Regions from separate parts of the Homo sapiens genome. Here regions 2 and 3 are each linked to region 1. Evidence: promoter capture Hi-C in human tissues and cell types (Jung and others, 2019). All regions are on one chromosome and are shown on one strand. The core of a region is centred on a gene start or on the middle of the fragment in contact, and the rest is flanking DNA. Distances in the headings are between cores, read along the strand shown.

What was found. The method cuts DNA at HindIII sites, captures the fragments that hold promoters and counts their contacts. A contact is called where the count stands out against the background at its distance.
Region 2: a fragment that was not itself captured here is called in contact with the fragment with the promoter of HUNK in region 1 in 2 of the 25 tissues and cell types used here (hippocampus and spleen).
Region 3: a contact is called between a fragment that was not itself captured here and the fragment with the promoter of HUNK in region 1, in 1 of the 25 tissues and cell types used here (thymus).

The regions. Positions count from the first base shown.
Region 1 is chr21:31,871,741-31,874,293 of GRCh38, forward strand. HUNK (hormonally up-regulated Neu-associated kinase) reads left to right here and starts at 1,280. Exons shown (of 11, transcript NM_014586.2): 1 at 1,280-2,195. The coding sequence starts at 1,935. RefSeq lists silencers at 1,398-1,447, 2,374-2,553. The HindIII fragment of the contact is 17,092 bases long and covers 1-2,553 here.
Region 2 is chr21:31,836,979-31,839,531 of GRCh38, forward strand. No RefSeq gene overlaps it. Among named protein-coding and RNA genes, the nearest start is that of HUNK, 35 kb to the right of the region's middle. The HindIII fragment of the contact is 4,333 bases long and covers 1-2,553 here.
Region 3 is chr21:31,908,942-31,911,494 of GRCh38, forward strand. All of the region lies in intron 1 of HUNK (hormonally up-regulated Neu-associated kinase), which reads left to right. Among named protein-coding and RNA genes, the nearest start is that of HUNK, 37 kb to the left of the region's middle. The HindIII fragment of the contact is 6,276 bases long and covers 1-2,553 here.

The DNA.
Region 1 (2,553 bases), core at 30-2,529:
TGCAACTGTCCTGTTAAGATTTGATTACTGAATTAGAGACATTAAAAGGATTGAATGAACGTTACTGAAATAGTCAAGGCCGGTGGGAGCAAAGAAGTCCCTTCAGCACAGCAAGAAAAACATTTTAAGCTGTATCTTTAATATTGGTAAACGGGAACAATGAGACAGAACAACAGAAAACGCAGTATGTTCCGTCATAATAACTGAGGCTGGTGACTTGTAACAGGTAGGTGGATGAATATAGTAGCGTATTTAAAATTAGATGTATTGAAAGCAGGCATTTCTCTGCGTCCCTCTTCAGATGGGTCAGCGAGACCCCCAGACACTGGATTGATGACAGCTGTTGTTCCCCCACCCCCCACTCCCAATCTCAAAGCATTGCTATGGGTCGATGTCATACTTGTTTACTCAGGAATAAACAATGAAAGGAACTTTGTTAGGACCAAATCCTTCCTTTCAGCTCTGATGTTGCATGATCGGGGTGAAGTTTCCATCAAATGCGGGCACCTCAACAGGTAGCATTTTGTAAATGCCTCCTCCTACCTACCCTCCTCCTTCTCCCTCACAAGATTCTTCATTTTCGGTTTGAGAAGACGTTGGGGATCCTGGGAGAGGGTCCAGTGTCGTCAGGGCAGTTGCAATTGTTTATGCGATGAGCACAGTCACAGCGCTTGCAGAACAAAAGCATCGAAGAGAGGCGAGCGCCGGTCCACCTCCTGCAATCACAGGCATCATTTCAATGGAAGGCAAAGAAGGTGTAAGCTACAAGCAGAGGCAGCAAACGCCCTGGTTCCTACATTGCTGCTGCTACTATTACTGCTGTGGCTGCGCCTCCTCCAACACAGCCAACCAGGCTGCGTGCGAGCCCGGGCAGACGCCTGGCCGCCTCCCCACCCTTTCTTCCAGCCATCCATCTATCCTTCCACCCCCGGTCCAGGGGGCCCTACTGTGTGGCGGACTCAGGGCCGGGCACGCAACCCGACTCACAGTCCACGGAGTTCGAGAGCCTTCCCCCTTCCCCCCGCCCCGGGTGGGTGCGGCCAGTGGGGGATTTCACCGCCGAAAGGTCCAGAAAACCCAAGCCCAGAATCCGGGCAAGAGGCGCAGCCGGAGGCGGCCCGACCTGGGCGGCCCGGGAGCGCGCGCCTCCGAGGCCGCGCAGGTTCTCCCTGTCTGGCGCTCAGGTGGCTTCTCCGTCCACTCCGCCGCTCCCCTCCCCGGGCCCTCCCCTCTCCAGCGAGGGTCGAGTTTGACTGTGGCGCGCGGGGAAGGAGGGGCTACTAGGGATTTGAAAGTGCACGGGCTGCGGAGTGGAGCTCGCATCTGTTCCCGCCGCCCGCGAGCGGATTAAATTTCTGCAAATTCAAACTGAATGGGGCTTTCTTCTGCTGCCTTCCAGAGGGCGCCGGCAGCCCGCCGCGCGCTTCTCTCCGGCGGGAGCGGCCGCCCAGCGCACGGCTAGGAGCGATCGCGGGAGCCCGACCCAAGCCCGTGCGGGCCAGACGGCGGCGGCGAGGCGGAGGCTGCGGAGGCACCCGGGCTCCCGGACCCAGGCACCCGGACCCCGGGACCCAGGCGCCGCCGGACCGCGCCCCACCCCGCGCGCCCGAGCAGGGCGACTGTCATTAGCTTCCTGGACGGGACCCGGGGCGGGATCCTGGTGTCCTGAAAGGGGCCCGGGCGACCCTAAGAGGAAGAACTTTTGGGGGCGGGGTCCCCGGTCCCGCGTCCCCTGGGCAGCCGCTATTGTCTACGCGCCTCGCTGGGCGGCGCGGGGGGCGTGATCGCGGCGGCCCCGGGCTCTGGGTGCGGAGACCCAGGCGGGGCTGGGCCCAGGGCGGCGGCGGGAGAAGCCGGGGAAGCCGAAGAGCCTGGGGAGGAGGAGCTGCGAGCGCGGGAGACGAGCAGGAGCCGCGCGGGCCGCGGCGAGCGCGATGCCGGCGGCGGCGGGGGACGGGCTCCTGGGGGAGCCGGCGGCGCCTGGGGGCGGCGGCGGCGCGGAGGACGCGGCCAGGCCCGCGGCGGCCTGCGAGGGAAGTTTCCTGCCTGCCTGGGTGAGCGGCGTGCCCCGCGAGCGGCTCCGCGACTTCCAGCACCACAAGCGCGTGGGCAACTACCTCATCGGCAGCAGGAAGCTGGGCGAGGGCTCCTTTGCCAAGGTGCGCGAGGGGCTGCACGTGCTGACCGGGGAGAAGGTGAGTCTCCCGGGCGCCGTGGGGCTGGGGCACAGGGGCGGGAGTCGGCGGCCAGGACCCCGCGGGGAGCACTGCACTGGGAGTCCCAGTGTGCAGTCCCGGGCCAAGCGCCTTCCCCCTCCGCCCGGCTTTCCTGTTGGGTTAAAACGCGCGCTCAGCATCTCGCAGCCTTTCCCGAAGGCGGCCTGCGGTCCGCTGCCCGGGGGTTGGGGGCTTGGGAGGGGACGGCCTTGCCCCGGGAAGCGTCCCGCGCGGCCGTTCTGCTCGTGGAAGGGCGCCGCCTGGCGACACTAGCGCGGGGGGCGGGATGGGGCCCCTCTGCCCTTCAGGCCGGCAGGGGCGGCGGATCCGTGGCGAG
Region 2 (2,553 bases), core at 16-2,515, 35 kb before region 1:
CTGGTGCCATATCTAAGATGCCATTGCCAAATTCAAGGGCTCAGAAATGTACCTTTATATTTCCTTTGAGGAGTTTTATTGTTTTAGCTGTTATATTTAGGTCATTGATCTATTTTGAGTTAGCTTTTTTATATGGTGTAAGATAAGGGTCCAACTTCAATTCATTCTTTTACATGTGAAAATTCAGTTGTCCCAGCACCATCTGTTGAAGAGACTGTTATTTTCCTATTGAATGGTCTTGGCATCCTTGTCAAAAATCAATTGGCCATATATGCATGGATTTATTTTTGGACTCTTAATTCTTTTCCATTGGTCTATATGTCTACCCTTATGCCAGTACCACATTGCTTTGATTACTTTTGTTTTAGAAGTAAGTTTTGAAATTGGGACTTGAGCCCTCTGATTTTGTTCTTTTTTTTTTCAAGATTATTTTAGCTATCCAGAGCCCCCTTGGAATTCCATATAAATGTGAGGATCAGTTTTTCTATTTTTGCAAAACAGTTTGTTGCAATTTTGACAGGGACTGCTTGGAATCTGTAGATCACTTTGGGTACAACTCTGTTTTTTTTTTTTTTTCCTGGACTATTAGAATTATTGGGAAGGCTTCTTACCTGGTTCCAGAGGTGCTAACCTTGAATCTCCTTAGCCAGGAGGCTTAATAACTTCTCAACACTCTGTACATGGTGAGGTTGGAGCAGGGAAATCAGTCAGAATGTTCATTGCCTATCTTTTCTCCCAGAGCTGGCTGAACACAACATTCAAAATACCAACACATCTCTCTTGCATTTGTTCCAGCCTGGAGACCACACTTTAGAACCCACTGTCTTAGTGGGTTGATGAATCAGCATCCAATTGAGGAACTGAAATTGGACCAGCTGGGTGTTTAGAGGCTCAGTTGGAAAGCAGACACTGAACTAGCTCTTAGATTTCCAGTAAGTTTTCCCCTTTTGTTAATGTACTTTATCACTTTTGTAGTTAAATATATTTTGCAGCTCATATATATACACACATATATATATGTGTGTGTGTGTATATATATATAGCCTATATATACATATATATGTATATATAGGCTATATATATATATAGGCTAGGAATGCATTCAGTTGCATGTAACAGAAGATTTATTTTTTCACACAACGAGAAGTCCAAAGGTAGGTGGCTCTTGGCATTAGTTCAGGCACTCAAAGATCTCAGGGCTGGCATCCTTGCAGTACTTTTTGTCTTTCTCTCACGATCTCAAGATGGCTTCACCACGCCAAATATCACATCTACATTCATAACAGGAAAGGGTGGGAGAAGCACCCCAGAGCTTATATTGAGAAGACAGAAGCTTTCCAGGAAGCCCTAGAAGACTTTCCATTATCTTTTGTTAATTAGAATTGTATCCCATGGCTCTCTGTAGGTGAAAAGGAACTGGAACCTTAGGGAATAGGATTGTCATGATTGGCTTTAACCAATCCTGATCCATTGCCTGAAGCTGAGCACATTACCTTCCTAAATAAAATTGGAATTTTGTTGGCAAGGAATAAGGAGCAGCAAGATATCAGTGTACTGCTTAGGTATATACACTTATATGGTTATTTTATTATCTATTTTCTTAAGCAGTTTCTACCTCTGAGGGCCTGTTCTCATCCCTGCTATTCTAAGAATATAGAATAACCAGAAATTGTCTCGTCCTATCTATTTTTCCATTTGGGCCTGGATGGTGGCTTGGTGCCTGGTGAAGTAGAGATGGCAGGATGTGGCCTTAGGCTATAAGCAAATGTGAGCAGGCTTACAGGCGCTGTGTCTTTAAGGCCCCGAGTTCACACTATTCATGATATGTTTCCTAATTATTTCCTTTAAATGTTGAAAGTGCTTTCTTTTCTTGCCCTTTAGGGGGAAAAACCAAGTTTCAAAAAAAGCATCCCATCAATGATTCAATCAAAGAAATGTCATTAATGAGAAGAGAGAAAAAAAAGTCCTCCAACATTGTATTTGGGTAGATTTCAACAGTTAATTTGTATTTCAAAATGTGAATGTAAATTAAAAGGCTAAATACTTGAAAGTCAAAAGTATTCCTTATTTGACATTAAAGTCAGCGAATTGATCATATTTGCTGAATGTAGTTAGTAAAAAGTGCTAATTTATGGCTAAGTAATTAAACAGGGAGACAGATGGAGAATCAAATGAGTTTTCTTCACATTCAAATTTGCATACTGTTTCTGATGGTGCATACGCTTATTGCTCTGTGTGGTGCCCTCCAGTATTAGAAGAACATAGAGAGCTATTTATGTCAGCTTTGCTCAAGCAACCCCAAAGAAAGAAAAGGGGAATTATATCAAGTCCTAGACTTAGATAAAATACAGAGCTCAGTTAGATGTTCTCTTCTGTTTCTCGCTCATTCATCATTTTTGCTTCCATGTCATAGTGGGTAGAATAGGCAACTGTCAAATAGTGGAATTTTCTCCTTTCTCCATTGTATCATGGAAAACGCCATGGCGTGGGAATCAGAAGATGGTCTAATTTTAGCTTTCTCAGTAACTAGTTGTGTGACATTGGACAATTCTG
Region 3 (2,553 bases), core at 36-2,535, 37 kb after region 1:
ATCACACACGGTCTCAAAAAACTTGTAAACTGGGCCCTTTTGACACTTTTCCAAACCAAAGAGACAGGATGCTAGCATTACCTGTTTTAACAATACTCATCTCCCCTTAAGATTCCCGAGTTTTGTGCACTGTAAGTGGGCAGCACTCCGGAGGGACTGAGGGTTAATTTTATCCTTGTGGATAATAAATGCATCTTGGACAAAGGAAGAACACATATTTTAACTAAGTAGCAGCCTTCTGATAAGAATTCCAGCAATTGCACAAGCCCCACCGTTGTCTGTACAGCCCAGCAATTCTACCTTGCTATCTCAATATTCTCCGTTTTGCATTCCTCTCTTGCAGGAACCAGTTTCTAGTCTCTCACCAGCAGGATACGTTTCCAGGGTGATCTGCTTACTGAATTGGGGCTGGAGCCCAGGCGCAGAGGATCCCCGGGAAAGTGGCTTGAGAACTCCCCTGGGTGGGCGTGGGAGGGTTTCCCAGCCCTGCGTTGGGAGCTGCCATTGTTTTTTCCTTAGTCTTGCTTTTTGCCTTTGCCCAGCACCTGGTTCTGTTAGCATCGCCAAGATCAGTCCTAATGAGCTTTGTTGTTTAAACTGGGGAAGGAAACTTTTTCCCTCAACAAAAAGGCGAATTTTAGCTCAGCAGCAGGAGGGTGGCCAGTGGGGAGCCAGGGGTCAGAGGCAGTTGAGCCCTGCTACATAAATAGCAGCAATTAATGGGCCCCTGTAAAAGACAGGGATGTGTGTGTTTGCTGTCTAGCATCGTTTCTCTGCAAATCGGAGCAACACTGAAATTAATTATAAAGCCAGCAAAGGCTATTTTCTGCTTTCTGTTAAATAAGTATTGTCCACACAGGAGCACGTTCCACTCGGATGCATTTACCCACATCGTTTCTTTGGAAGATGGCGTGAAACCAATTTATTTTCAAAACTCCCCACTGGGTCATGCTAATCACCACAGTTTTCAGCCCTTTTATGCGGAATTCAGGCTTGGGCTGGAGCCGGGAGCCGGGAGCCCTCAGGCCCTTGTCATTTCCTTCATTGCTCTGGGGGCTTTCCCTTTGCCCACCCTGCCCAAATCATTTCCTCCAGTGCTGTCAACCAGGTTTGAATTTTTATGATGAGATTTACAAAGCAAGCCATTCTGTTATTACTAATAACCATCATAAAGGTTTCATAAAGGTTCTGCTTTGGTTTGCTGGGGCTAGTACAGTAAATAACACAGACCTGGGGGGCCTTCAACAACAGACATTGATGTTGTCTGAGTTCTGCAGGCTGGAAACCTGAGATCAAGGGGTCAGTAGGTTTGGTTTCTCCTGAGGCCTCCTCTCCTTGGCTGACTGAAGGCTGCCCTCCCACTGTGTCTTCGCACAGACATCCTCTGTATTCTCATCCCTGGTGTCTCTCTCTTCGTATCAAGACACCAGTCCTGTTGGATTAGGGCATCACCCTCATGTCCTCATTTAACCTTATTTCCCTGTTTAAAGGCCCTGTTTCCAAATACAGCCATCTTTCTGTATCTGCAGGGATTGGTTTCAGGATATCCTTTTTTTTTTTTTTTTGAGACTGAGTCTCACTCCATCACTCAGGCTGGAGTACAATGGCGCGATCTCGGCTCACCGCAACCTCTGCCTCCCAGGTTCAAGTGATTGTTGTGCCTCAGCCTCCCAAGTAGCTGGGATTACAGGCATGCGCCACCACGCCTGACTAATTTTTGTATTTTTAATAGAAACGGGGTTTTGCCATGTTAGCCAGGCTGGTCTCGAACTCCCAACCTCAGGTGATCTGCCTGCCTCTGCCTCCCAAAGTGCTGGGCAGGATCTCCTTCTGATACCAGAGTCCAAGGATGCTCAAGTTCTTGATAACAAATAGTGTCATATTTGCATATATCCTATACATATCCTCCTGTATATTTTAAATCATCCCCACCTTACTTAGAATACCTAATGCAATGCCTACACATCACTTCATTCACGTGGATTCAACTTAGCACTTGGCATGCGGCAAATTCAAGTTTTGCCTATTGGAACTTTGTGAATTATTTTCCCCAACATTTCTGATCTGAGGTTGGAACCCATGGAAGGTCAACTGTACAATCACATTGGGGCTGGAATTTTGGGGGAGGACACGACTTAGCCCATAACAGATTCTGAAATAGTTAATAGATTCTTCTTCTTCCAACTGCACGTGGATTCATTCATTCAAGAAATACTCATTGAGCGCCGCCTGTGTGCGGGGGCTGTTCTGGATGTGGTAAGCATGTCAGTGAGGGACCATCTCTTCCCTTCTGGGGCTTCTAAGCGTCAGGCAGATTCCATGCTCACTCAGTTCTGTGGGACTTCAGAGGTGATAAGTGCTATGGAACAAATAGCCTCGGGGCACAGGGGTTGTGAGCTCCAGATGATGTGGTTATAAGTGGGTGAGTCAGGGAAGCTTCTCTGAGAGCTGACATTTCGTCAGGATCTTAGAGGTTGAGGGAGTGCTATGTGGCCAAGATCCCCAGGAGGGAACACCCCTGTTTCTGCTGCTGAGGAACAACGAGGAGGCGGG